Linked DNA regions of Homo sapiens: regions 2, 3 and 4 are each linked to region 1. Evidence: promoter capture Hi-C in human tissues and cell types (Jung and others, 2019). All regions are on one chromosome and are shown on one strand. Each heading gives the region's core, a stretch centred on a gene start or on the middle of the fragment in contact. The rest is flanking DNA. Distances are from core to core; before and after follow the strand shown. Region 1 holds the start of PKNOX1 (PBX/knotted 1 homeobox 1). Region 2 holds the start of AGPAT3 (1-acylglycerol-3-phosphate O-acyltransferase 3). Region 3 overlaps HSF2BP (heat shock transcription factor 2 binding protein). Region 4 overlaps RRP1B (ribosomal RNA processing 1B).

Region 1 (7,587 bases), core at 4,383-6,882:
CCCATCTTGGCCAGGCTGGTCTCAAACTCCTGACCTCAGGCAATCCACCCACCTCGGCCTCCCAAAGCGCTAGGATTACAGGTGTGAGCCACCGCACCTGGCCTCACAAGTAGTACTTTTCTAAAGTTACTGCCAGAGAAACGTTAACTACATATAGAGTACAGGAATCCCAACAAAATGCATTGTACTCAGTATCATTACCACAGAACCTGCTGGCACTTAGATCATAAGCGCAGAAGGTTAATCTTTGAAACAAGTCATACTTCACTGACCATGTTTCATCAATTCTAAGGCACACTTTTAAATGTCTGAAGTGAAAAGCATCCTTCACTGATGGGGTAAGAAAGCAGCGTGCCAGAAGGCACTGGGAGCATCTGTAGTGGTATAACACACTGCTGCATTTTAGATTCAACAGACTATAAGCACCTCATTTTTCTTTTTTCTTTTTTTCTGAGATGGAGTCTCGCTGTGTCACCCAGGCTGGAGTGCAGTGGCGCGATCTCGGCTCACTGCAAGCTCCGCCCCCTGGGTTCACGCCATTCTCCTGCCTTAGCCTCCCAAGTGGCTGAGAATACAGGTGCCCGCCACTACGCCCAGCTAATTCTTTGTATATTTAGTAGAGACGGGGTTTCACAGTGTTAGCCAGGATGGTCTCGATCTCCTGACCTCGTGATCCACCCGCCTCGGCCTCCCAAAGTGCTGGGATTACAGGCGTCAGCCACTGCGCCTGGCTATAAGCACCTCATTTTACCTTTTATTGTGTTTTGCTTTATTGCACTCAGCAGGTACTATGTTTTTCACAAGTTGAAGATCTGTGGCAACCCTGTATGAAGAAAGCAAGCCTATTGGTGCCAATTTTCCAAAAACAGGAGCTCACTTTGTGTCTGTGTTACATTTTGGTAATTCTTCACTATTTCAAACTTTGTCATTATTATGTCTGTTACGGGGATCTGTGATCAGTGATCTTTGATGTTCAGGTCAGGAACAGTGATTCATATGGGTAATCCCAACACTTCGGAAGGACGAGGCAGGAAGGCGGCTTGAAAGGATTCACCATTCTGGAAAGGAACTTAAGAGACAGCCGAGGCAACATAATGAGACCTCACTTCTACAAAACTTTTTCAAAATTAGCTGGGCATGCTGGCACATCCCTGTAGTCCCAGTTACTCAGGGGGCTGAGGTGGGAGAACCACTTTAGCCCAAGAGGTCAAGAGTGCAGTGAGCTATGATCTCACCACTGCATCCCAACCTGAGCAACAGAATGAGACCCTGTCTCTCAAAAACATAGCCAAGGCCAGGAACAGTGGATCATGCCTGAGGCTGAGGCAGGAGGACCACTTGAGGCCAGGAGTTTGAGACCTGCCTGGATAACATAGGGAGACTTCATCTCTTTAAAAAAAAACAAAAAAGGGCTGGGTGCGGTGGCTCATGCCTGTAATCCCAGTACTCTGGGAGGCCAAGGTGGGTGGATTATTTGAGGTCAGGAGTTCAAGACCAGCCTGGCCAATACGGCGAAACCCTGTCTCTACTAAAAATACAAAAATTAGCCGGGCGTGGTGGCTCACGTCTGTAGTCCCAACTACTTGGTAGGCTGAGGCAAGAGAATCACTTGAACCCGGGAGGCAGAGGTTGCAGTGAGCCAAGATCGCGCCACTGCACTCTAGCCTGGGCGACAGAGCGACTCCATCTCAAAAAAAAAAAAAAAAAGAAAAGAAAAGAAAAAAACAAGTTAGCCAAGTTGTAAATGCAAAGCAGAAGTTTCTTTCCAATTTTTGAAATTAAAAAAATACATACACAAATTTTTGAAATTTTAAATCACCTCTCAGAACAAAGGAAAACTTAAAGGCAATTAAAAAGTGCTACTCCAGTGAACACATGAATAAGAAAATGGCCAGGTCCGTTGGCTCACACCTGTAATCCCAACACTTTGGGAGGCCAAGGCGGGCGGATCACTTGAGGTCAGGAGTTCGAGACCAGCCTGGTCAACATGGTGAAACCTTACCTCTACTAATAATACAAAAATTAGCTGGACACATGCTGCACACCTGTTATCCCAGCTACTCGGGAGGTTGAGGCAAGAGAATTGCTTGCACCCAGGAGGCAGAGGTTGCAGTGAGCCATGATCATACCACTGCACTCCAACCTGGGCAATAGTCTCAAAAAAAGAGGGAGGGAGGGAAAGAAAGTGAAACAGCCTTATTGGTGATATGTGGAAAGTATGAGTGGTCTGATTAGATCAAACCAGCCACAACATTCCCTTAAACTGAAGCCTAATCGAGAACCAGGCCCAAGTTTTCTTCAATTCTATGAAGGCTGAGAGAGGTGAGGAAGATGCAGAAGAAAAGTTGGAGCCAGGCACGGCAGCTCACCCCTGTAATCCCAGCACTTTGAGAGGCTGAGGCAGGTGGATCACCTGAGGTCAGAAGTCCCAGCCTAGCTAACATTTAGTAGAGCCCGTCTCTACTAAAAATACAAAAAATTAGCTGTATGTGGTGGCAGCTGCCTGTACTCCCAGCTACTACGGAGGCTGAGGCAGGAGAATCGCTTGAACCCGGGAGGTGGAGGTTGCAGTGAGCCGAGATCACGCCATTGCTCTCCAGCTTGGGCAACAAGAGTGAAAATCCATCTCAAAAAAAAAAAAAAAAAAAAAAAAAAAGTTGGAAGCAGCAGAGGCTGGTTCATGAGGTTTAAGGAAAGAAGCTGTCCCCATAACACGAAAGTACAAGGTGAAGCAGCAAGTGCTACCTAACAGAAAAGCAACACCAGGTTATCCAGGTCTAGCTAAGATCATTGATGAAGGCAGCGAGACGAAAAAGCAGATTTTCAATATAGACAAAAGACTTCCTTTGGAAGGAGATGACATCTAGGACTTTCATACCTAGAGAGAACTCAGTGCTTAGTTTCAAAGGGCAAGCTGGCTCTCTTGTTAGGGGCAAATGTCACTGGTGACTTTAAGCTGAAGCCAGTGGTCTTTGACCATTCTGAAAATCCTAGGGTTCTGAAGAATTATGTTACGTCTACTCTTGCCTGTGCTCTGGAAATGGAATAACACATTACTGAATATTTTAAACCCACTGTTGAGATCCACTGCTCAGAAAAAGATTTCTTTCAAAATATTACCGTTCACTGACAATGTACCTAGTCACCCAAGGGCTCTGATGGAGATGTACACAAGGAGATGAATGCTGTCTTCATGTCTGCTAACACCACATCCATTCTGCAGCTATGGATCCAAGGAGTAATCTTGACTTTCAAGTCTTAATTATTTAAGAAATACATTTTGTAAGGCTATAGCTGTGGTAGTGATTCCTCGCATGAATCTGGGCAAAGTAAACTGAAAACCTTCTGGAAAGAATCTGCCATTCTAGATGCCATTCATGATTCATGGAAGGAAGTCAAATAACATTAACAGGAGTTTGGAAGAAGTTGATTCTAACCCTTATGATGACTTGGAGGAGTTCAAGACTTCAGTGGAGGAAGGAACTGCAGATGTGGTGGAAATAATGAACAGTTGCTTCTTACGGATGAGCAAAGAAAGTGGTTTCTTGAAATGGAATTTATTCCTAGTGAAGACGCTGTGCACATTGTGGAAATGACAACAAAACATTTGGAATATCACATCAACTTAGTGGATAGCAGTGGCAGAGTTTGAGAATAGCCTCCAACTTTGAAAGAATTTTCACTGTGGTTAAAATGCTATCAAAACAGCATCACATGCTACAAAGAAGTCTTTCATGAAAGGAGGAGTCCATCAATGCAGTAAATTTCACTGTTGTCTTATTTTAAGTAACTGACACAGCCACCACCACCCTGATCAGTCAGCAGCCATCCACACTGAGGCCAGATTGTCAAAGTATAAAACAAGCAGGACTCACTAAAGGCTCAGATGATCATTAGTATTTTTAGCACTAAAATATTTTTTAATTAACGTAAGCACATTTTTATAGATATAATGCTTGCTATTGCACACTTTAAGTAGTATACTGTAATTACAACTTTCATATGCACTGAAAAACCTAAAACTGTTGCGTCACTTGCTTTACTGCAATACTTATTTTACTGCGGTGGTCTGGATTAGAACTCGAATTATCTGAGGTACGCCTGTGTACAAGGACAGGATTCACAAATCACTCTAAGTAAATTAAGCAGAGTGATGAAAGGCTCATTGGGGTCAGCCTGCCATCTTCCAAATTATGACTAAATGCAAGAGCATCACCAATAACTATACTGGCAGAGGTTCACATTTCACCTCGATTCTTCCTTATGTTTAGAGAAAGCCTATTTTTCAGTATGCCAGGAAAAATCATGAAAGTAGACCTAACTAAAGCTGGGGGTTTCTTTCATCCTGAAGAGGAACCACTTCCTAAGGAAAAATCATCTACTGTTTTAAAAAGCAAACTCTCGTAGAGTTGGAAGAGAACCCCACACACAGGTGGAACACCCCCCAGGGCTGCGGCCCCGCCGTGGCGCTCAGCCTGGCCTGCCCTGGGCCCGACCTCAGGACGCCGCCATTCCCGGACCCTCGGGCCTCCCGTCAGGAATCCGCCATCGGAACGGAGGCCCTAACTGGTCCCGTCGCAGAGCCACTGTCCAAATAAGGCATTTCGAGAGCCACGAGGATGACATAAAGCAGACTCCGCGTTTCTTCATTTTTCGTTAAGTGACACGATTTCCCTCACAAGGAAGGTGCAAACCCACAGGGCGCCCAGACCCTGCCCGGCACTTCCTGTCATCCATTACCACGACCCGTGTGACAGAAGCGGCTCTTCCCACCAATTCCCGGGACGCCGGAACCGCTTCCCCAGCACCCGGCCCCAAACACTGCCGTCAGCGAGCGGCCCTGGGCTGCTCCCGCGCCGGCGCCCGGCTGAGGGCCACGAGCCCCATCACGCCCACCGCCCCCAGGACCCCGACCCACCCGCTCGCCACGGCCGAGGCCGGGGCCGGGGTCGCGGCCGCCATCTTCCCGCCTGCGCCGCCGCGCGCCCCGCACCCTCCGAGCAGCCCCGCCGGCCCTGAGGACTCCGCGAGGCCGCGGACCCGACCGGCCCCACGCGCGCCGCCCGCCCCGGCCCCGCCCCGCCGCGCGCCCCCGACCCTCACGCCCGCCGCCCCGCCCGCGCCGGGCTCCGCGCGCCCCCGCCCCGCGCCGGGGCGCGCGCCGCACTCCGAAAGGGACGGTTAGGAGCGCGCGCTTCGATCAGGCCCAGCGCGGCGGCGGCGGCGCCTTCCAGAAATTTCCGCGTCCCTCAACCCACACTAAGAAACCAACTGGGCGCGCCCCCGCGCCGGTTGGGCTGAAGGCGCCCCCTCCCCCGCGGGTGCCCGCTCCCCTCCCCCACCCGCGCCCCCTCCCCGCCCCCTGCCCCGGGCGGCGGGTCAAATGCGGGCCCTCGAGGGCAGCGCCGGCCCTCCAGACCCGGGCGGCAGCGGCGGCGGCGGGCGGCGGCCGCGGGCCGGTGTGATTGATAGGGACGGCGGCGGCGAGAGCGGCGGCGGCGGCGGCGGAGCGGTTGAGTGACAGCTTACCTGGGTGCCAATCTTCATCACACTGACAAGCGGCTGCAGCAATCGGGACCCGCAGTGCCGCGCCCGCGTCCAACCGTCACGCCGACGCTGGGCCACGCGACACAGCCTCGCTCAATGGGAGGAGGGCGACGCCGACGCGCGCCGCATCAATATTCAGAGAGGGGGCGGGGCCTGCCGGAGACGGGCCCCGCCCCTCCCTGCGCGGCGGCGGGCGCGGGGCGGGGCCTGATCGCTGGGGGAGGAGAGCGAGGGCGGGAACCGGGCGGTGGCCGGCCCCGCCTCCAGCCCCGCCCGCACCCGGAGCTAGGCCGTGCCCCCAACCGGCCGCGCCCGAGCGCGAGGAGCTGTCTGCCCCGCCCCGAAGGCAGAGCCTCCCGCCTTATGACTATGCAGTAGGGGCGTGGCCTCAGCGCACGTCTTGCCCCCTCCGCGCCCTCGGTTGCCGCCCAGGAGAGGTGTGTGTAGCCGGGCGAAACCATTTGCCTCGAGCAGGCGGGGAGGGAGGGCTGTACCATCCGTAACCCCACCGCCGGGCGTCCCGTAGCCGAAGGCCTCCGTTCTGTGTGTGCCCGGTTTGAATGTAAGCCCGTGGGAGCCTCGCAGCCTTCCTCCCCAGGCTCTGGAGCCCGGGTGGGCCCGTCCTGGGCGGCACAGTGGATGCTCACGTGCCTCCCCCCCTGCGGCAGCGCGAGTGCTTAGCACCTGAGGCTTTACCCTGGGGGCTGTCTTCCCTCTGTGAGGACCCCAGCAAGGACTCATGATGTCCACAGGTGCTTAGGGGTGGCCTCTGGGCTACTTGGCCTCGCTTGACCACACCTTCCGGCCCAGGTGAGCCTTGCGGGTCTAGGTGACCAATGCGGCCTCCAGGTAAAGGGCACCTGCCTTAGGGGACGCCCACAAGTGTCTGCATTTCAAACTGCTTTGAAAGACCACCCTAACCGACCACTGCCACAATGTACCCACAAGTGCAGATGGTGGCTTTGGTCTCCAAGATGTAAGGAAAGGGCGACACATTCCCCACTGCGTAGGAAAGCACACGGTTTGCCTGACTGGCCTTCAATACTGCAGAAACATCCATTTATGCAGTGGCCCACCGAAGGCCATCAGTGCCTTGAGTCCATACACAGCGCGGGAAGGGCAGCTCTGTGGGCCCCCACTCCTCCCGGAAGGCAGACAGGCCCAGGACTGGAGCTGATTGCTAGAGGGAGCCTGGGGGTAGGTCTAGGCATGAACAGCTCGGAGGACATCCCTCCTGTGTCTTCAGAGCTCCACACCGCCAGGAGGTCTTGGCCAAGTGCTGTGCAGCTGCAGAGCCGCCTCTTTCAGAAAGATGGGAAGCAGCAGGGTGGGCAAGAGGGAGGCCCTGAGATACTTGCCCAAGGAGGGAAGTTCAAGGGGACAAAAAAAGCTCAGTATTCAAGACTGAGCATAATCTGCAGAGCCTAGTGCAAGATCCAGATGCAAGTGTCAATAGGTGTTGGAACAGAGAGACTCCACATGGGCTGGGTAAACTGAAGCTGAGACCTGCTGGGCCGCACCCCCCAGGAGTTAAGGCGTTCTTAGTAATCGGATGAGATAGGAGGTCGGAACAAGACACAGGTCACAAGGATCCTGCTGATAAAACAGGATGCAGTAAAGAAGCCGGCCAAATCCCACCAAAACCAAGATGGCGGGGAAAGTGACCTGTGGCCTTCCTCACTGCTGATTATACACTAATTATAATATATGAGCTTGGTAAAACACACTCTCGCCAGCGCCATGACAGTTTTCAAATGCCATGGCAACGTTTGGAAGATACCCTACATTGCCTAAAAGGGGTCGGGCGCAGTGGCTCACGCCAGTAATCCCAGCACTTTGGGGAGGCCAAGGCGGGCAGATTACTTGAGGTCAGGAGTTGAGACCAGCATGGCCAATATGGTGAAACCCCATCTCTACTAAAAATACCAAAAAATTAAGCAGGCGTGGTGGCATACACCTGTAGTCCCAGCTACTTGGGAGGCTGAGGCAGGAGAATCGCTTGAACCTGGGAAGCAAAGGTTGCAGTGAGCCGAGATCACG
Region 2 (7,781 bases), core at 1,327-3,826, 890 kb before region 1:
TCTTGCAATGAGATGGAGCAGCTAAAGATCTCACATTAAACAAGTCATTAAAAAGGAAACAGTCAAATGTAGCCAATCACGTCCCACGCTGCGATCTAGAAACACCAGTCCACCGGCGATACCTTATAACAGGGACATCACAAGAGTTTTTGACAAGGCCAGAGAGGGGGGGCAAAGCGTGGAAGCAGAAGCCATTGAATTTACCAGAGGTGGGTTTTGATGGTGACAACGGGCCTGCACTGGCTCTTCAGTGCCAAGCACTAGGGGCTCTGCCGTGGGGTCTGCAATGTGAGAGCCTAAGCGGGGCTGAAGATTGATGAACAGGGTAAATGTGATTGGGCAAGTTAAGGACACCCCTCCTCCAAAGGAATCCAGGAAATCAGGCTCTTCTCAAACACACATTCTGATCTTCCCCTTCCCTGTTTAGGAGAATTCCAACATTTCCCACCTACCTCTGATTTGACCAGGGATAGCATCCGTGGACTTTCAGCACCCGGACGGGTCTGTGGAGGTGGGAGTTCCAGGGATGTAAGCCTAAAGGCGGCCCTGCCGTTCCGTGACACAACCTCGGGCAAGTAACTCAAGCCCTGTTGTGTCAGATCACTTGTTTACGAGGTCAAAGTGCGGAGGGGATGGGAGGCAGGTGTATCAGTCACGTGTCTACGGCAGGGACGGAACAGATTACTTTGGTGAATGCTCTTTTTCTAATTTCCAAAATAAAGCCATTACTTTCAGTTTGCTTCCCCAGTCCTGGCACACAGACGCGCGTCCAGGCGCAGGGTGTAGCTCCCCAGCGTGGAGTCTGCACTGGGGCCCCAGCCTGGGGCGGGGCAGCACCCTCCCTCCAGGAAGGCCTGTTCTAGAATCCACACTCCTGGGGACTTTCCCACCCGGCCACACTGCCTTTAACCCAGCAGTCTTCAGGCTGCTGCAGCGCGTCCCCCTGGCAGATACGCCAGGACAGGGCCACGCACAGGTAGGGTGACCACAGAGGGCGGCCACTCCATGAAGTCACCTTCAGAATATTTAAGGCCCCTACACCTTCTAAGGCCAAGGGGCCCTGTTCTGTCTGAATGTCAATGGCATGCAGCTGCTTTTTAGACAATGTCCTCAAGAAGATACTTAAGACTAACCAGAAATGGATACAAGAAGCGAGTTGTAACAGGCACAGGCTAACGCCGAACTCTGTGGGGGAGGAGGATTGGTTGGAAAGAGGGAGGGGGGGCGGCAAAGAAGTGGCCAAATCAAGAGAGTGCTCAGCATCCTCGGGAGACCCCTCTGAAGCTTTCAAACTGAGAAGACGAAGTTCAGCAATTCCTAAGCGAGTCGAGTCGGAGCAGCCGCGCCTGCAATTTAAAAGCTGCAGGATCCTGGGTCCCTCTAGCAGCCTGGGCCCGCCGCCCGCCCCACCTCCCAGCCCCCAGCAGGCTCTCGGCGTTGGCTTTCATTTTTAATAAGAGCCGCATGCTCATCACCCTCTGTCTGGAGGCCAACAGCCCACATCTTTCTTCTACTAAGATCATGTTTCCCAGGAAAAAGAACCCAACTGCTCAAGTATTCTCCTAGACAAAGCTTTTAAAATTGTGCTTTTTTTTTTTTAAAGGTCTGGGAAGCCATTTATAAAAGCATTTTCCCCATGTCACTAAACTTCTCTCAAAGTTAAAAAAAAAAAAAAAAACACTGCACCATTTTTAACTGCCTTCAAATACTAATAACCCTCCTTTCCTAAGTACTTGGGACCAATGTTCCAAGGGTCCTGGGGTGGCCAGGAGTGGGTTTTCGCCCCCACGGCTCTTGCCCCCGGACTGACCCCATCCCCTGACCCGCCCGGTGCAAACGCGCCGCCGGTCTCCGGGCCGAACCCACAGCCAACCCCGGGCCCCGCAGCCCTCCCCGCGCGGAGCGGCAAAAGTGAAACTGCTCCCTTGGCCTGGGCGCGCGAGGAGGAGGCCCCTGGGGGGGGTCCCGGGTCCGCCGCGCCCCGAAACCAGGCGGCGGGCGCGTCCTGTCCACGGGGGAGCCGAGCGGGGCCCGGAGCAGAGTCCAGGACGGAGGGATGGGACGTCCCCGCGGGAACCCACTCGCCCTCCCTCGGCCCGGCCCGGGCCCCTCCCGGGCGCCCCGAACCCCCGGGCCTCCCCGCTGGGCCCAGCGCCACCGAGGCTGCTGCGGGAAGCGGCCGGGGCCTCGCGCTGGACCAGGCCGCCGGGGAGGCCGGGGTTGCGGGGGGCGCACAGGACCCGGGCCCAGACCTCCTCCCGGCCCCGCGCCTTCCCAGGCCCCGCGCCCCGCGGAGCGCGGCCGGCCCATTGCGGCGCGGGGCCCCGGGCGGCCCGAGGTCGGACGGCTGGGGCAGGGGCGACCTCCGGCGGCGGGAGGGCGACCTCGGGCGGCGGCGGGGCGTGGGGGAAGAGGGGGGCGGCCCGACCTCGGGTGGGGGCCTCGGTGCTCACCTGCAGCCGCCGCCACCTGCTCGTCGCGCGGGCGTCCCCGGCGTCGCCTCCGCGGCCCCGCTCTGGCCGCCGCGCTCCTCGGCCCTGGGCCCGGCCCGGCCCTGCGTCGGGGCCTCAGCGAGTGCGGCGCCCGCCGCCCCCGGCCCCCATCCCGCCGCCCTCCGCCCTCCGCCCTCGGCCGCGCCGCCGCCGCCACTTCCTGTGCGCGGCGATCCCACAGTTCCGCCGGCGCGCGCGGGGCGGCCGAGGGACACGCTGGGGGGACACGGGGGAAGGACGCGGGGGGGGACGCGGGGGGACGGCGCGGGGGGGGACGCGGAGGGGACACGGGGGCGACACGGCGGGACACGCGCGCGGAGAGAGGTGTGGGCCGAGGGCGCCGGCGGGGCCGGGCGCGGAGCCTGCGTGGGATCCGCTAACGGACGGGGCTGGGGCCCGGGCTGGGGGAGGGGGCGGGCCGGGACCGCGGGGGGCGCGGGGATCAGGGGGGTCGGGGCTGAACGGGGGGAGGCGGCGAAGGACCAGGCTGGGGTCCCGCGAGGGCTCCCCCGGACCGGGTCGGGGGCAGAGGGGGCCGGGGCGCGGGGTGGGGCCGGGAGGGGCCTCCGAGCTCTGCCTGGGCCCCGCCATCTCCCCTGCCGGGGTCTCCTGCGGGCGCCGGGGAAGTTTCGCGCGCGAGCTCCTGCCCTGGTCGGCCGGGGCTTAGGGTCGCCGTCAGGGGTCGCCGCGCGGCGGGCTCGGTGGGGACGGCCCTGCGCGCAGCGGCTCCGCGGAAGGATCGCGTTTCGGCCCACGTGCCGCGCCCTTGGACTTATTCATAGTTGGCACCCGGCTGGCAACACTGTATCGACACTTGACCGTGGCGGGGGTGGGGGTCGCCCCGGGGCTGCCCTGCGAACCCCCGCGGGCGCTGACGCCGTCCCCTCCAGACCGCGGAGCCCTCTCAGCCCCAGGACAGCGGCTGCCGTCCCCCCTCCCTTGCACCTGGCCAGCGGCCGATCCCAGAACCTGCGGAGGCCGCGCAGGTGCCGCTGTCAGGGCAGGGCCCGCTGCGGGCTCCGCCTCCTGCGCCCGGTACCTTGTGTGACCTGGCGCCTGCTCAGGTCCTCAGGCCCCGGCTGGACTTGCTGAGCTTGGGTGGGCTTCATTTGAAAACCATTTAAAATACCAAGTACTGGTACTGTCTACTGTGCCCCTTTTTTTCCTTTTTTTTTTTTTTATTTTTATTATTATTGAGACAGGGTCTTGCTCTGTCGCCCACCCTGGAGTGCAGTGGTACAATCATAGCTCGCTGAAGCCTTGAACTCCAGGGCTCAAGTGATCCTCCCACCTCAGCCTCCCAAGTAGCTGGGACCACAGGCACACACCACCATGTCTGGCTAATTTAAAAAAAATTTTTTTTGTAGAAATGGGGCCTCACGGTGTTGCCCAGGCTGATCTCGAACTCCTGAGCTCAAGTATTCTCCCACCTCCTCCTCTCAAAGTGCTGGGATTACAAGTATGAGCCCCCGCACCCAGCTTGCACCTCCCTTTAAGCCTCCTCAAATTATTTCAGAAAATACTTAGACTAAAATAAAATGAAAGTACCGTGCACCTGTCCTACTCACAGTTCCCTTATTCTTGAAAAAGGAGTTAAGATTTGCAAAGCTCGTGGAATTCACCATTTGTAAAACCTCTCACCCCTCATGTCATTTTGGGTAATCTGTGCCACAGATAAATTCTCACAGGCACCACGGGATGTGTGGATACAGGGATGTGCTGACTTACAGCTATACCTATAATCACAGGAAGCCTGAGAACAACCAGACACTTGGTTAAATAAACTCTAGAACATTCATTTAGCATTTTTAATTTAAAACATTTTCTAAAGTTGTGATGTGATAATTCTGTGTACACAGATAGGATATAGTCTCCAAGATCTGTTAAATTAAAAAATAAAAATAGTGCAGAGCAGTGAATATACAATGATGTGCTTTATTTAAAACAAACAAACAAACAAAAAATGGCCAGGCACGGTGGCTCACACCTGTCTGTAATCCCAGCACTTTGGGAGGCTGAGGCTGGTGGATCACGAGGTCAGGAGTTCAAGACTAGACTGGCCAAGATGGTGAAACCCCGTATCTACTAAAAATACAAAAAAAAAATTAGCCTGGCGTGGTGCAGGCGCCTGTAATCCCAGCTACTCGGGAGGCTAAGGCAGAGAACTGCTTGAACCTGGGAGGCAGAGGTTGCAGTGAGTCAAGATTGTGCCACTGCACTCCAGCCTAGGTGACACAGTGAGACTCTATCTCAAAAAAAAAAAAAAAAAAAAAGACCAGATGCAGTGGCTCACACCTGTAATCCCAGCACTTTGGGAGGCCAAGGCGGGTGGATCACTTGAGGTCGGGGGTTCCAGACCAGCCATGGTGAAACTCCACCTCTGCTAAAACAAGATACAAAAATTAGCTGGGCGTGCTGGTGCTCTCTTGTAATCCTAGTTACTCAGAAGGCTGAGACAGAAGAATTGCTTGAACCCGGGAGGCAGAGGTTGCAGTGAGCTGAGATCTAGCCATTGCACTCTGGCCTGGGCGACAGAGCGAGACTCTGTCTCAAAACAAACAAACAAATAAAAAAAAAAAAAAAACAGAAAACAACATAGGCAGATACAAGTCCAGAAGGCTCTGTGAAGATATGATAGTGAATGGGCAAGGGTAAAGAAATTTTATTACAATAAAATTTCTATGTATGTTAGGTAGTAATGTTTAGATTTATCATAAGCACACATTTTATAATTTATATATTTTATAATTTATTATTACTATTAGAAAAAGGGTGTCCCCCCGTCACCCAGGCTAGGAGTGCAGTGGTATGATCATAGCTCACTGCAGGATCCCTGAAGGGATCCTCCCACCTCAGCCTCTCAAATAGCTAGGGCTATAAGCATGCACCACCACGCCCAGCTATTTATTTATTTATTATTTATTTAGTAAAGATGGGGTCTCATTCTGTTACCCAGGCCACTCTCAGACTCCTGGCTTCAACGATCCTCTCACCTTGGCCTCCCAAAATGCCAGGATTAGAGGCATGAGCCACCCAGCTCTGCATACTTATTAAAAATGAATTATGATGTACCTCTTCATTTAAACATTGGATGGCTCCTTCAGCCTCACTTTGAGCTTTTAGATGAGCCCCAAATATTATGTTTGTCTCACTGGTGTAAAACTTCACTGACAGACCAGCCTGGGCAACAAAATTAAAATTAGCTGGGTGTGGTCCAGCACACCTGTAGTCTCAGCTACTCAGGAGGCTTAGGTGGGAGTCGAGGCTGCAGTGAGCCATGAACGTGCCCCCTGCACTCCAGCCTGGATGACAGAGACAGACCCTTTCTTCATTAGAATCTGTGATCACTGAGACCTGAGTCGAGCCCCTGGAGAGCCGCAGGTGCGCAGACACTCAGAGAAGCATTTGAAGGGAACTGGAAGTCAGCCACCCACCCTCAACTGTTTACAGGGTTCCAGTGTGCAGGTGCTCAGATTGGCAGGAAACGTCATCGCTAACCTTTGTTGAGCCCTTGTTATGTGTGTAGATTAGTTCATTAACCAAAACCAGGCCACAAGGTAGAGACGACTGACACCCCATTTTACCTTTAAGGAAACTGAGGCATAACAAACCTCCCTACCTTATCCGCCAGCACACAGGGCAGCAGAGGCAGGCAGCCCGGCTCTAGGCCCTGATGCAGCCACAGCGCAGCAGCTTCTCCTGACCCGGTAATGGGGTTGGTTATTAAGAAAGAGACTCGTGGTGAGCCAAGATCATGCCATTGCACTCCTGCCTGGGCAACAGAGTGAGACTGGATTGGATCTCAAAAAAAAAAAAAAGAGAGAGACTCAGATCCTCAGCCTCCTCAATGAAAAACTGGGGGCAAAGGGAGATTCTGACCTTGAGTAGTATTTGTCCAGAGAGGGGATTTTTGCTAGGAATGAAAAGAAGAAAAGTAGTTTTTTTGTTTATTTGTTTGTTTGAGACAGAGACTTGCTCTGTCGCCCAGGCTGGAGTGCAGTGGCACGATCTTGGCTCACTGCAGCCTCCGCCTCCTGGGTTCCAGCAATTCTTCTGCCTCATTCAGCCACCAGAGTAGCTGGGATGACAGGCACCTGCCACCACGCCCGGCTAATCTTTGTATTTTTAGTAGTGGTGGGGTTTCACCATGTTGGCCAGGCTGGTCTCGAACTCCTGACGTCAAGTGATCCACCCACCTCGGCCTCCCAGAGTGCTGAGATTCCGGGTGTGAGCCACGTGCCCAGCCTTTTTGGTATTTGTTGTCCACGGTGCATATGAGCCAGGCCCTGGGAAAGGGGCTCCCTCTTCATTATTTGCTCTAATTCTCAGCCTGAACTTGCCGACATCTGGGCTCACAGATAAGCAAACTGAGCCAGAGAGATGACCCCAGGGCCAAATGGCAGATTGCTGCCCACCTCCACACCCAGAAGGAGGCTTTCCAGTTCTGAGGGGGCCTCATTGGACAACTTGCCCATCCAGCCCTGCCCAAGGCCCAGGGGGCCCAGTCTGGCTCAAGGCAGGTCAGGGGAGAGGACAGGCAGCGGCTGGCAGTAGGGAGGGCCCTGGAGCAGGTAGGGCTGGACGCTGAGTCGCGCGACTGCCAGGGGAGCTGAGAGCCAAGGCTCAGCGCCAGCCTGTGACCTTAAACAACGACGTTACCCATTTGGTCTTAGTTTCTTTTTTTGTAAAATGAGGAGGTTCCCACCCAGATTTCCCTGATCTCCAAGAGGATGCCGGGAGAGCCAGGGGCCCTCGGGGTAACTCCGGCATTCTTAAAAGCCCAAAGACAACTCTATATTTATCTCAGATGTAAAAGTTTACCAAAACGAAAGATAATAACTTTGCTGTAAATACACGAACTCCGGCATGTGGATACTAATCTCTACTGGATGGACGTTAACTATTTTTGGCTAATAGGTAATAGGAAAACAATGCAAACAAAAGCTTTTTTTCCTAGGAGACACATTATTTTTTAAACATAGACTTCCACAGAGGCAAAAATTATAAACAAGATCTTTCACAGCAAAGAGATTAGAAACCCTGGGTGCACTAAGACCTCACCCCTGGAAATGATTCTTGAGAAACTGAGTTCAGTCTGGAGGCGCTGAGTCCGGTGAGATTGTTGCCATCTGTCAGAGGCTTTTGAACCAGAGCGACTCCGTCTTGAACAGGGGCTGAGTAAAAGGCTGAGACCTACTGGGCTGCGTTCCCAGACAGGTAAGGCATTCTAAGTCACAGGATGAGCTAGGAGGTTGGCACAAGATACAGGTCATAAAGACCTTACTGATA
Region 3 (7,079 bases), core at 1,782-4,281, 670 kb before region 1:
GGGGCACAGATCAGGGTGGAGATTGTCCAGAACATAGGAAAGTAGAGGGAAAAAAAACACTTGGGGAGCTTATGGACAGAGAAGGTGGCAAGGTGGTCAAGATGGAGGCGGAAGAGGTGTGTGGTGTTTTAATATCACCCGTGACCGCTCTGCTGTTCATGTCATATATGTGTGTCAGTGAATGAAAAGCAAAATTCCCTGACTCTGGTTTGGGAAATCAACAGAATTAATTTGAGTTCAGCAAGATTGATTTTAGTTTTTTTTTTTTTTTTTTTTTTTTGAGATGAAGTCTTGCTCTGTCGCCCAGGCTGGAGCGCACTGGCGTGATCTTGGCTCACTGCAACTTCCGCCTCCCAGGTTCAAGCAGTCCTCATACCTCAGCCTCCCGAGTAGCTGGGACTATGGGCGTGTACCACCACGCTGGGCTAATTTTTGTATTTTTAGTAGAGATGGGGTTTTGCCATGTTGTCTAGGCTGCTCTTGAACTCCTGACCTCACATACCAGGTGATAAAGAAATGGTAAGATAAATTGACGCCGTTTGTGCAGTTTTCTTTGATTAGTGTTTTAGAAACCCTTATTTTCCTTTCTAGCTTTCTGTACCCTCCCTGTGAATAAATTGAGCATCAAGAGACACAGCCATTCTCATGTTATTAGACCTGTATTAAGAAAGGATTATGGACTGCGTGCAGCAGCTCACGCCTGTAATCCCAGCACTTTGGGAGGCCAAGATGGGCAGATCACTTGAGGTCAGGAGTTCAAGACCAGCCTGGCCAACATAGTGAAACCCCATCTCTACTAAAAATACAAAAATTAGCCAGGCGTGGTTGGTGGCAGGCGCCTGTAGTCCCAGCTACTCGGGAGGCTGAGTTAAGAGGATCACTTGAACCTGGGAGGCGTTGGTTGCAGTGAGCTGAGATCGTGCCACTGCACTGACAGAGAGACACCGTCTCGGGGAAAAAAAAAATTGTTGTTTCAGAAGATACATAGATGTTTAAATGGTCTATGATTTAGGTTGTTTGTAATATTCACTGTTCATATTATTTCTGTCTCTGGGCTTAAAAAAATATAAAAGTAATATATTCTTATTGTATGAGAATGAGACATACAGATAAAGTAGCCATGTGTTTTTCTTGGTTCAAAGATTAGCAGAAGGAATGTATAAAGAAGTGAAATAAATTTATGTGACAAATATTTATGTATTGCCTACTATATTCCATATAGACATTTGGAGGGTGGGCATAGAAGAAAACCTATGCAAATCCCTGCCTTCAGGGTGCTTTTAGGTAGCATGCATGCAGTGGGGCCAAGTTGAAAATGCAAGGTCAGGGTTCTGTTCCGAGGCAGCAGCAATGCTCCCATCTGGCCACAAGGTGGCGGCCTCATACAGCAGAAGGGCACTTGTCACCTCCCCAGGAGCCTGGCGTAGATGGGTGTGGCCTCCCTGATGACTGACTGGAATTCTATGAGATTGCCTATCGTAGAGTGGGATGTTTTAACCCTGTCCCTTTGGTATGTTAACTTACACTAGGGTTGCATACAGCTGTCTGGAACAAGTGATTATGAAATTACCGTAATGCAAGAGAGCCGTTTTGGGTGGTCAAAGTTAATTCCCACAGGTTTTTACACATGATAAGGCTTGTAGAGATTTCCTGTCTCTTTTACCATGTTTGAGTAATATACCGTTTAATAGTAGAAGCCAAATTTAACAGTTAAATGCAAAGAAAAAATTTTAAATCACAAATTTCATCTCAGTTTTTCAGTTTGTTCATTTTTGTCTGTGACCATAGGTGGTATTTCATATGATTGTAGTGTGTATGTGTATAAATAATGTATTTCCATTTAACTTTGTTACAAATAATGCAAGTATGTAGTTTTTAAAGCATAGTGCTTCCTAGTTGATTTTTTGGCTGGGATTAGGATAAAATCAAGAATTCCAGTGAAAGTCATTGTGGCACAATATTTCTTAAAAGAGCAGAAAATGAAACTGTGATTTGAGGGAGAGGAAATAGTCCAAAGGCACTCTGCTCTATTTCTGAGAACCACTTTTTTTTTTTTTTTTTTAAGAGATGGGAGTCTTACCCTGGCTGGTCTCGAACTCCTGGCCTCAAGTGATCCTCCCACCTCAGCTTTCCAAAGTGCTGTAATTACACAGGCATAAGCCACCGAGCCGGGCCCCTAAGAAACGCATTTTATGAGAAGCTTTGCCAGCCAATTTTATGATGTTTAGCTGGTCTGAATATTTACTTTTAGGTTCTAATTTTTCTTCTAGGACGGGGTCTCTAGAAAATTTAGAGACTAGCTTGCTTTCTTCCTTCCTTTTTAACATTTCCTTTAGAGCTTTGGGGATACACGTGTGGTTCTAAGCAGTCCCCACAAGTGTCTTATTCTGGCTTCCTCTTGTCCTCTCAGACCCCTAGATTCGAAAGCCCTACCCGCTTCTCGTTTGTTTGCAGATAGTTGAGGAAGTGTCTGTGAGCTTTTTCTCCTCTAGGGTGGAGTAATGTTCCGTTTTCCAGGCGCCTGGCTCTTTGAGGCTTTCTCACTCATCGCAAGTGACAGTACAAGAATGAAACAGATAACCAGAGTTGCCTTGTGTTTTTCTCAGTTCAAGGATTAGGAGAGGGAATGTGTAAAGAAGTGAAATTCCTTCATGTGACAAATATTAGGTAGCTGCCTTCCATTACTCTCCATTTTTTTGCTTTTTCACATTCCTGTGGATGGGTTCCCTTGTTTGCTGTTGCTGGTCATGTGTTGCATGTTCATTTTATTTTATTGGTGATGAGAGACCAGGTTATCGCCCAGAAGTAGTTCTCAAAGTGTGGGTCCCAGACAGGCAGCATGAGTCTCATCTGGGAACTTGTTAGAAATGTAAATTCTCAGGCTCACCCCAGACGTTCCAAATTGGAAACTGTGGATGGAACCCAGCCGACTCTGTATTATCAAGTCCTCCAGGGATTCTGATGTACGCTAAAGTTTGAGAATCATTGTCCTAAAGCATCGCTACTTTAATCAAAGAAGTTAGACCATTAGCTCTTAGCACCCTCAAATCTTGGTATATGTTGGCATAAAAACTGATGATTTCCTAGCTTTTGAGATCAAACACTTAAAAATTTGTATTATATATTTGTTTTTTCGAGTGTCAGTATTTCTGCAACATAAAATTTTAAATTTAAAGTTGATAGTACTTTTGCTTGATTTATTGACGTGGATTTTTTTGGGATTTTTGTTGGCTGTTGTTGACTCATCAACTAAATGAGTGCGGTGGAGAGGAAGTATTACATAGTTTCCACTCTTTCACTATAGCATTTTCTCATTTTTATCACTGTTCTTTCCCTCCTCCAGTGCCTACTACTGCAGTTGTTCCCATTGAGTCAGTCTGCCAGTGGGTGACACTAGCTTTGTGAATCAGCCTGTGCTGGCGCCGTGCACTCCCTGAGCTGCCTTCTGCTTTTCATGGAGTAGCGACAAGTCTGTGCCATGAGACAGTCGGGCTTCTCAGCTCTGCCTTCCATCCTTTAAATAACATGTTTTCTTGAAGCCTTGAGTACTAGTCTGGCAGTAAAGTGAAACCTTAAAAACACAAAACAGAAAACAACCAAAGTCCTTTGTGCTGTGGGCTAAAAACTGAGATGAACTTAGAGAACAGGACTGTTAGAATATTGGTTATTCAAGGACAGGCTAGAAGTCAAGAAATGCAAATATTCTCACCTAAGAAATCAGTACACATTTTACTAAGTCAAGACTGGGCAAAATAGATGCTTAGGGAGAGATTAGTGACTTGAAATATCTTGAGTAATTTTATGTCTTTCTCCTAGACCTGGAAAGGAAAGAGCAAGAATTAGAGCAGCTGAAAATGGATTGTGAGCACTTTAAAGCCCGCCTGGAAACCGTGCAGGCCGACAACATAAGAGAGAAGAAGGTACCATGCTCAGGGACAGACTCTCACCAAGCCAGAAAGTGGGGCTGGCTTACAGCCTTTCACTTATGATAAGCAGTGGGACTGAATTTTTTACTCTTAATCCTCAATAAATTGTATTTGTAAATGTATGTATTCTGAGTGGGTTGGAATGTAGTTGAACAGATGGATTTTATAACCATTTAACACGTAGATCATTCACTTGGTATCTTTTAACTTTTATGTTTAAAAATCTGCCCTACAACATAAAGGTTCATAATTATCTTAGTTCATTTTGTGTTGCTATAACAAAATATCTGATACTGAGTAATTAATTTTTTTTTTCCTTTTTTTTTTTGAGACAGAGTCTTGCTCTGTCGCCCAGGCTGGAGTGCAGTGGTGCAATCTCGGCTCACTGCAAGCTCCGCCTCCTGGGTTCACGCCATTCCCCTGCCTCAGCCTCCCGAGTAGATGGGACAGGTGGCCGCCACCACGGCCGGCTAAGTTTTTGTATTTTTAGTAGAGACGGGGTTTCATTGTGTTAGCCAGGATGGTCTCGATCTCCAGACCTCTTGATCTGCCCGCCTCAGCCTCCCAAAGGGCTGGGATTACAGGCGTGAGCCATCACGCCCGGCGAGGCTGAGTAATTTATAAAGAAAAGAGGTTTATTTATGTCAAGATTTTGGTGGCTGGAAGGTTCAAGATTGGGCATCTTTTTCTGGTGAGGGCCTCAGGCTGCTTCAAATCATGACAGAAGGGGAGCTGGCTGTGTGACGAGATCACATGATGAGAGAAAGCAAGAGAGAGAAACTGAGGAAGCCAGACTCTTTACCAACCTGCTCTCAGGGAAACTAATCCATTCCTGTGAGAGCAAGAACTCACTCACCCTCCAGAGAGCACATTAATCGCTTCATGAGGAATCCACTCCCATGACCCATACACCTCTCACTAGGCCCCACCTCTCAAGAGTGCCACATTGGGGATCAAATTTCAACATGAGTTTGCAGGGGGACAAACCATAGCGATGAGAGTCTCGGAGGAAAAAATCATGTACATAATATCTTATAGTTGGACATAGATGTATTAAATCAGAAGTACATGTAATTAATTTGGGGATTATTACATTTTAGCCAGTTATATTTTATATAAATATTAGAGAAACTAATATTTCTTAAAAATTGCTTAGTTTAACTTTTTGTGTGGCATAACTTCCTTTTCCATAGAACTAGAACTATTCTGACACTTTTTATAAAATTTGGGGCCTGGATATATTTTTATTTTGGATGATAATAGTACTAACAGGCCAGGTACAGTGGCTCAAGCCTGTAATCCCAGCACTTTGGGAGGCCAGGGTGGGCGGTTCGCTTGCGGTCAGGAGTTCGAGACCAGCCTGGCTGAGGCAGGAGAATTGCTTGAACCTGGGAGGTGGAGGTTGCAGTGAGCCGAAATCGTGCCACTGCACTCCAGCCTGGGCAACAGAGCGAGACTCTGTCTCAAAAAAAAAAAAAAAAAAAAAAGAAAAGAAGCCATTCCAGTAAATGCATACTGAGAAGAAGGAAACAGCCATGGTAAAGTAGCATTGAAATCGCTAGGGTTTTGTTGCCCTGGAACTTTGACCTTAAAATGTGGGAATATTTTACCCAACTATTCCCTATTTATAGTTAAAAATCTTGTTGAATAGTCCAATTTAATATAGAGGGAAGCCCCTGCAAGGTGAATACAGAGGGAAGCCCCTGCAAGGTGAATGCAGAGGGAAGCTCCTGCAAGGTGAATACAGAGGGAAGCTCCTGTAAGGTGAATACAGAGGAAAGCTCCTGCAAGGTTGCTGTAACAAGGCCATTTCTCTTCTAGCAGCTGCCTTATCTGTAGCCTTTGCTGTAGTCTCTGTTGAGGCCTGTACGGATCATGAGGAGGGACTCTAGAAACTTATTTTATTTATTTATTTATTTTTTGAGACAGGGTGTTGCTCTGTTGCCAGGCTGGAGTGCAGTGGTGCAATAATAGTTGCAGTAGCTTCGACCTCCTGGGCTTAAGCGATCCTCCTCCTTGGCCTCCAGAGTGGCTGGGACTACAGAGATGTGCCATGACATCCAGCTAAATTTAATTAATTAATTAATTTTTATTTTTTACAAGAACAATTCTATTGTATAATTTTTAAAACAATTTTTAAAATTTTTTTATAGAGATGGGGTCTCACTATGTTGCCCAAGTTGGTCTTCAACTCCTGGGCTCAAGTGATCCTCCTGCTTTGGGCCTCCCAAAATGCTGGGATTACAGGCATGGGCCACTGCACCTGGCCCTGGAAACTTATTATAGAATTGAGGACCCAGGAAAGAATCCAGAGACTAGATCCTCAATTAGATTACTGCTAGTAAGTACTTTTTTTTTTTTTTTTTTGAGACAGAGTCTTGCTCTGTCGTCCAGGCTGGAGTGCAGTGGCACAATCTCAGCTCACTGCAACCTCCACCTCCTGGATACCTGGGATTACAGGCACGTGCCACCATGCCTGGCTAATTTTTGTATTTTTAGTAGAGATGAGGTTTCGCCATGTTGGCCAGGCTGGTCTTGAACTCCTGACCTCAGGTGATCCATCCACTTTGGTCTCCCAAAGTGCTGGGTTTACAGGCGTGAGCCACCGTGCCTGGCTGCTAGTAAGTACTTCTGTATGAGTGAAAAATTACTAGGAAAAGGCAGAAGTTATTGAGTTCAATATGTAAGAAAAGGTCAGAAACAAAGTATGGAACCCAAATCATAAAGTGTGATGTATGAGCAAGCAGCTTCTGAACCCCTAGAGAAAGGCTACTCAAACAAGGAAGACTTTGTTCCTGGCCATGGTGGAGATGTTTCCTCCACAGAGATTTTGTTGGGTCAGTGGAGGAGGTGCACTGGGTCTTGATACCTGCTTATGATGTGAGGAGGCTGGGCCAGGAAAGAGTCCTGGCAGTAGCAACGTTTGAACTTTAGAGGAAAAAGATCCCAGCTTCCTGGTAAAGGCACAACTGTTGGAGAATATTGGCCGGGCGCGGTGGCTCACGCCTGTAATCCCAGCACTTTGGGAGGCTGAGGTGGGCGGATCATAAGGTCAGGAGATCGAGACCATTCTGGCTAACACGGTGAAACCCCGTTTCTACTAAAAAAAGAAAATACAAAAAATTAGCCAGGCGTGGTGGTGGGCGCCTGTAG
Region 4 (6,924 bases), core at 3,332-5,831, 710 kb before region 1:
GACAGCTGTCCCTTCAACACCTTAGACAGCGTCCTGCCTGGGTGCCGACCCCACCCACTTGCTAGGACGAAGCAGGGCCATCTCAAGGCCCTGCAGAGAGCAGGCCCAAGAGCCTTCTGAGGAAAGGAGGGCAGTGAGGCCACATCCCATGCCTCAACTCACCCTCCCAAGGGAGGGCCCAGGGCTGCCTGCACAGACTAAGGGGAGCTGCTGGTAGGGTGGCTCCTGGAAGGGTGAACATTGGGGGTGGGGGTGTTTTGGACAATGAGTGAACCAGGCATTTGTGTCTGGGACAAATCTGTGCTATGTGGAGCTGCAGGATTCGTACTGTTCATTTTCTCCAGTTGTAAAGGCTGGGTGAGCTCCTCAGTCTCTCAGAGTCTCTTCTCCCTAAACATACACACTCACGCATGTGTGCATGCACACGCACACACACATATATACTGGTGCATGTACACACACTCACACATACACATACTCTCTATTACTTGCAGTTCCCAACAAGAGTCAGGTCCTAAATTCGTTATAATACTTTTTTTTTTTTTTTGAGATGGAGTCTCACCCAGCCTGTCACCCAGGCTGGAGTGCAGTGAAACGATCTTGGCTCACTGCAACCTCCATCTCCTGGGTTCAAGCAATTCTCCTGCCTCAGCCTCTCGAGCAGCTGAGACTACAGGTGCTTGCCACTACGCCCAGGTAATTTTTGTATTTTTAGTAGAGACGGGGTTTTACCATGTTGGCCAGGCTGGTCTCGAACTCCTGACCTCATGATCTGCCCACCTTGGCCTCCCAAAGTGTTGGGATTACAGGCATGAGCCACCGCGCCTGGCCTATACTACTTTTTAAAACTTTGGTTTCCTTTGTAAAAGCAACTCGAATGGATGGCACCAATATGAAAAGTAGGAAGATAGGGGTTACCCTTCTCTGTCGCCCAAGAAGCAAGTGGTTCCGAAGTTTCGCAGAGAGACAGCTACAGCTGATGGAGCACTACGATCTCAAATGGCCTCTCTATGGGACGGCTTTCAGTATTTAGAAAGACACTTGGGAAAACGGCTTTTTGGATCACGTCTCACCAGGTAGCTTCTCTTAACAGGTCCCAGGCAATTGGCTGCCCACTCACCACTGGCACCCCACTCACAGCCCTTTGAGGATGAGGGACAGACACATAGGTGCTTCCTTCTGACTCAGAAATGGGCAGTGAGGGGCCGGGCTCGGTGGCTCACGCTTGTAATCCCAGATCTTTGGGAGGCCGAGGCAGGCAGATCACCTGAGGTCAGGAGTTTGAGACCAGCCTGGCTGACATGGTGAAACTCCATCTTTACTAAAAATACAAAAATTAGCTGGATGTGATGGCGTGCACCTGTGATCCCAGCTACCCGCTACCCGGCAGCCTGAGGCAGGAGAATCGCTTGAACCTGGGGGGGCGGAGGTTGCAGTGAGCCAAGATCTCGCCACTGCACTGCAGCCTGGGTGACAGAGCAGCGAGACTCTGTCTCAAAAAAAAAAAAAAAATAAAAATAAAGAAATGGGCAGTGAGGAGCTAGGACCCCCCTCTTCCCCGACCGCCTTGTGGAACCAGGCTGCGAGCCGCGCCAGGAGCTGCAGCTGTGCTCCAGAGAAGCTTGCCGCTGGCAAAACCCCACTTACCGGCAGTCATGTTTCTGTTCAGCCCAAAGGTGACTTTCTTGGAGCTGGATGGTGTCTTGTTTAGCTGCAGAAGAGAAATAACAGGAACAAAAGGAGTGACGCAAGTGCAGTGGAGGCGCTTAGTCAGATTTTTCTGGAGAACCTGCCCTGGAGGGTATGCCGCCCACACTGCTGCTTACTGAGTGGCACATATAGGGAGAGGCCAAAGGGACTGCGGCCAAGACTGAAACCGACCCTCCTGTCGGGGCTTCACCAGGACCGCCCTTTGTCCTTCCCAGCGTCCCACACACGCAACCCCCCAGCCCAGGGTCAGTGGTGCCCACACTCTTGGCCCATCTGCGGTCACTGCCTCATTACCGCTGCAGGGTTCTACGATCCAGGGAAGAAAGGCAAACAGAGAGGATGCCTGAACTGTCCTAAAAACAGTTCACCACTGAGAACCCGTGAGGAAAAATGCCAAGACTCCCCTGCCTTTTGCTGGAGAGTTCTGAACTTCTAACTTGAAGACTCTATGACATCGATGAGACGATGCCTATGATGGAATCTCACTGCAATGGACAATGGACACACAGTTTCCAGCTTTTTGTGCACAAGGACTCTGAGCTATCTGCATATCCCAACAGTTCACCACAATCAACTATCTTCTTTCCTACTTACATTCCTGGAAGTGGATCCAGCCTGCATCAGGAAGCACTGCCTCAAGTTCCTGCTCTGACCCACATTTCTGTGTGGACCTCCTACTGCTGACTTGCACCACTTGTGTTTAACACTGTGACATTTCACGAGAGAAAACTGGTTTCTGCAAACCCTGAGCCGGAAGCCCTGGGAGGCAGAATGTGTGGATCAACCGCCCCTCAAAGTCCCCTTCCTGACTGTGATCCCTCAGGGTGGGTCCCAGACCACTCAGACCTTATGCTACCCTGGCCGTGGAACCTGTCCACTGTGGACAGGCTCAGAGGGCCACAGTGGGGCTCCAGGCCCGGCATGGGAAGCACTGTCAGCTCAAGCCCATCTGTGCCCTTGTGGTGAAATGTGCTGTGCCACTCTGGGGAGGGTGCGTACCTGGACGGCAGGGCCTGGAGGGTGGGTGGCAGTGCTGCTCTTGGCTCTTCTGAAGAACAGGGGCTTTGGTAAGAAGGGGGTGTCAAACTTCACAAAGTCGCTCTCTGCCCTCAGCTTCTGCTTCTTCAGGGAACTGCAAGTCCCACTGCTTCCCTACGTGAGCGAGGGGTGAGAAGCGGAGGAGGGGTCAGACGACAGAGCCTCCTGTGCTGCCCACACACACAGGAGGGGAAGGCAGAGCCCCAGGCAGATCCAGCCCACCCGACGGCCCGCGGTCTTCCGCACCGCACTTGCAGACAGCCCTTCCATTCGGCAGAGCTCAGGCTTCACGCACAACACGACCGCTATCATGGCACCATGCCAAGAGGGGCGATGAAAACGCCTCGTCAGAGTAAGGACCCACTTTTATCTTCATCTTCAAAATGGGGATTTTGGCCTTTCAAAGCCGATCTGTTAATAAGATCGACTCTCCCATTTGTAGCTGAATCGTCACTGCGCTGGCAGTCTGGTGTGGAGGACAGTGATGCCCATGTGGGGCTGTGGGTCCCTCACAGGCAGGCCCAGGACACTCATTGCGTGTGCAGCAACTGACAGCCACCCAGAGAGAGACCGGGTCTCGTACTTGGCTCTCAGAGGTGTGGGCAGCCCAGTGCCGCTGCCGACACACGGGTGGCTCCGGCAGGTTCAAGTGTGCCGCCTGGAGGGCAGGGAAGCCCGAGGAGCTTCTCCTGTGCGCCTTCCCTGTGCCATGACAGATGGCAGGGGAAAGCTTCCCTTGACCCTGGGACTTATTGAGCAACACCCCATCCTCTTTACAATAGGCTGCCAGGGGCCTGAGACGACAGCAAGAAAGGCAATGTCTCTGGCCCTCTTAGTGAGGGAGCAGCGCTGAGGGTACGAGGGGCAGGCTGCAGTCCAGGGAGGAGATGGCGGCACTGTGAGGTAGGAGAGACTCGAGGCTAGAAATGGGCCTCCTGCCGTCCAGCTCAGTGCACTGCTGCCCCTGGGTAAGGCTTTCCTGACCATAAACTCACTCACTAGCCACTTGCAGACACTCTTAGCCCCAAACCAGCGCTTCACCAGGTCCACACATGTCCACTTAAACAAGAGATGTCATAATCTCCGCAAAGCGGTGTGTGCAAACCAAGAGGTGACCAAGGTGCGCAAACTCTGTGAAGGGCAGAGTTATTTTCTGCTTTACAGACCGCAGGTCTCTGTCTCTACCACTCCCCTCTGCCGCTGCAGCATGAAAGTGGCCACAGACCTGCACATACAAGTGGATGTGGCTCTGTTGCAGTGACACTACGTTTGCCGGCCCTGGCCTGGAAGCCCAGGGCGCCCAGAGGTGGTGTGAAAAGCGGATCAGGGCCAGGCGCGGGGGCTCTCGCCTGTAATCCCGCACTTTGGGAGGCCGAGGCAGGTGGACTGCTTGAGCCCAGCCTGGGCAACAAGGCAAAACTCTGTCTCTACAAAAATAACAAAAATTAGCTGGGCATGGTGATGTGTATCTGTAATTCCAGCTACTTGGGAGGCAGAGGCAGAAGAATCGCTTGAACCTGGGAGGTGGAGGTTGCAGTGAGCCGAGATTGTGCCACCGCACTCCAGCCTGGGTGACACAGCCAGACCCAAGACCAGATCAACAGCTTGGTTCCTCATTTATATCTGGCTCTAGAAATCAAAGTGGAAGGAAAGTCTTTCCATTAAGAAGATAAGTGGTCCTGCTAGTGAAGTTTCTTGAGCTGGGGGGTAGGGGGGAAGCTAAGAAAAGAAAAGAATATAGAAAAGAAGGTGAGTGAAGCAAGAGAATTTTGGGCTTCCTCTTTTGCCAAAGGGGCCTGGACTGGCCATGCGCTGATGAAGAAAACCAGACCTGCCTTTGACAGAGGCCTAGACTGGCCTGAACACGCCTGGGGCAGGAGTGCCTGGCCCAAGGGATAACTTTCCCAGCTTGGAGTGGGCCCTCCCGAACCCAAGCATGTGGCCTAAGGGAGTGAAGGTGGCCGATGAGGAGGACCGAAGTACTGGTCACCTGTGATTTCCTCCTTAGTGAAGGCTGTTATGAACACACCCTATTCTAACTGCTGCTGAGTCCAGAGGCCTGGCCGCCAGCCCCCACCCTTCCTCTCAGGAGGCAGTGGAGCCCCATGGACGCGAGTGAGTGCCTCTGTGGCGAGCTGGCCTGTGGGTGCTCCCACCTTACCAGAGCCTGGGGTTGCCCAGCTTCGGACTCCAGCACCCCGTTGTGCTCCACCAAGTTTGACATCACTCTCATTTTCTTCCTCTTTTTCAAACTTGCTGTTTTCTGGCTGGGCAGGCCACAGAGCTCCAGGCTGCCGGGCCCTGCCTTCTTTTTCTGCAGCCTCCTGCGCTGGGGCAGCGTGGTGTGGCTGTTCGCCCCCTCTGCGGGGCCTGTGGGAGGGCCTTCCTGCTGCAATGGAGGCCAGGCCGGCGTGGACAGGCCACTGCCATTGACGGGCACAACTCCAAGTTTCCGCTTCCTTTTTAGGAGTTGGGCTCCACCTGTCGGGGACCCTCTAGGTCCCTGAGGATGACTGCCACTCGGGCCACTCTGAGACATGTCCTCTGGGGGCAACACTGCTGATTCCAACATTTCCCTGTGGGCCCTCGGGCTCTTCTTCCGTGGCCGTTTCCTTTTATTGTGCATGGGGACGGCTGGAGGATGCTCGGAGCCACTCTCCTCCCCAGTGCTGGACGTGGCCTCTGCACCTGGCTCGGCCACACGTGCCTTCAGGGCTTTCAGCCCAGAGGCCTCGGGCTCCCTGCCCCGGTTCTGTTCCAGGGATGGGGCTGCACCCCCTGGGCCTGGATTTTCAGGCTGCAGGTGGTGCTTCTTCTTCTTCTTCCTTCTTCTCTTTTGAAGACTGCTTTCACTGTCCTCTTCCTCTACACAAAAGACTCTGCTTCCTAAAAAGACAGAAACCCATCAACAAGCACCCAGTGCCAGCTGGGCCAGAGTCCTGCTGGCGATTCTCAGACAGTATGACTGGCGGACGCAATTTCCTGACATTCTACCACGAGGAAAGTTCCTGTCTCCCTTGAGGTACTTGGTGCGCCCACTACCTTTGTCGTCTGGTCCCACTTCCTCCATCCCCAACTGTGACTGGAAGCCTTCCTTCTGTCCGTTTATAAACACATATGGAACTGAAATAGTCCCATTTCCACTAATTTTAGGGCTCAAGGGTAAAAACCATAGATCTCGAGTGGTCATCAAACAGCCGCCCCCCAGTGCTCCCTGCAGCTCCTGCTTCCCTGCAGAGGTGCCCTGGAGAGCAGGCGGACGTGAGCGGGGTGAGGTGGGGACGCGGCTCCACCAAAAACAGCACAACACTTGGAAAACCGCCTTTACCTCTCAGCCATTAAAGACTGAAGCTTTGGGCTCTGCTAATGCTTTATGACGGCACGAGCTCAAGTCTCCGAGGCCTCCATGGTGCATGCCGCTCCCCAAGGGCTGAGTCGTGCCCTTCTTTTTAGCTTTACAGCTTACCTTTCTCCTTTTCCAAGTTAGTTTTCTCTAAAAGTTTATTTCCTTTCTTCTTATGCTTTCCTTGACTGAGGATTTGGTCATCTTCATCAGCAGAAATGTCCTCCGCAAAACTGAGTTGAGATATACTGCTTCCTAGATGCCAGAGTGACACACTGTTAGCTTCCCCAGGCGCTCAAGACTCTGCCCCAGGGGCCTAAGAGCAGCACCCCTCCCAATTTCTGCCTCATCATCATCGTTCCTCACCGTTTCTCCCACCCAAACCTGAGCGCTGCTGACACAGGAATTACAGACTTAAAAAAGCTTTGTGGATTTCTCAACCAAGGCAAGGCAAGGGATCACAAGCCCTCGGTGACACCCTCCATGGCTGGACCCCGGACGCTTGGCTAATGCAGTCTCTGCATTCCAACCAGCTTGCTGGTGCCTTTCCCAATTCCAAGTGTCCCTAGTGAATGACGGGTATGGGGTAACTTCACTGACTTGTCCAAATGTAACAAAGCTTACAGCATCAGCCTTTCCCGGGGGGACCATTGACCATAAGAGCAAATGAAAGGGATCCTGAGAAATTACATTTTTTACCTTCATAGAGTATCCAATTAAAACCTTCCTAGGCCATTGAAAATCCATCTAGTTAAAATAATAAAAACCAAACCAAAACATCGCAGTACCCACACATGAGAGCAGTCTGCCCTCTTGCTTTGGTGGTTAGGGAG

What was found. The method cuts DNA at HindIII sites, captures the fragments that hold promoters and counts their contacts. A contact is called where the count stands out against the background at its distance.
Region 2: a contact is called between the fragment with the promoter of AGPAT3 here and the fragment with the promoter of PKNOX1 in region 1, in 2 of the 25 tissues and cell types used here (heart left ventricle and heart right ventricle).
Region 3: a fragment that was not itself captured here is called in contact with the fragment with the promoter of PKNOX1 in region 1 in 1 of the 25 tissues and cell types used here (spleen).
Region 4: a contact is called between a fragment that was not itself captured here and the fragment with the promoter of PKNOX1 in region 1, in 1 of the 25 tissues and cell types used here (lymphoblastoid cells).

The regions. Positions count from the first base shown.
Region 1 is chr21:42,972,607-42,980,193 of GRCh38, reverse strand. It overlaps PKNOX1 (PBX/knotted 1 homeobox 1), which reads right to left and starts at 5,632. Exons shown (of 11, transcript NM_004571.5): 1 at 5,530-5,632. RefSeq lists an enhancer at 4,107-4,833 and silencers at 4,795-4,994, 5,135-5,454, 5,585-5,974, 6,285-6,444. The HindIII fragment of the contact is 23,812 bases long and covers 1-7,587 here.
Region 2 is chr21:43,860,018-43,867,798 of GRCh38, reverse strand. It overlaps AGPAT3 (1-acylglycerol-3-phosphate O-acyltransferase 3), which reads right to left and starts at 2,576. Exons shown (of 10, transcript NM_020132.5): 1 at 2,454-2,576. RefSeq lists silencers at 1,818-2,137, 2,258-2,607, 3,158-3,517 and a cis regulatory region at 6,652-7,149. The HindIII fragment of the contact is 11,781 bases long and covers 1-7,781 here.
Region 3 is chr21:43,641,130-43,648,208 of GRCh38, reverse strand. It overlaps HSF2BP (heat shock transcription factor 2 binding protein), which reads left to right. Exons shown (of 9, transcript NM_007031.2): 4 at 3,817-3,920. Among named protein-coding and RNA genes, the nearest start is that of HSF2BP, 15 kb to the left of the region's middle. The HindIII fragment of the contact is 5,547 bases long and covers 258-5,804 here.
Region 4 is chr21:43,686,226-43,693,149 of GRCh38, reverse strand. RRP1B (ribosomal RNA processing 1B) reads right to left here. Exons shown (of 16, transcript NM_015056.3): 12 at 6,215-6,346; 13 at 4,910-5,634; 14 at 2,710-2,862; 15 at 1,648-1,711. Among named protein-coding and RNA genes, the nearest start is that of PDXK, 29 kb to the left of the region's middle. RefSeq lists a silencer at 4,905-5,034. The HindIII fragment of the contact is 4,062 bases long and covers 2,551-6,612 here.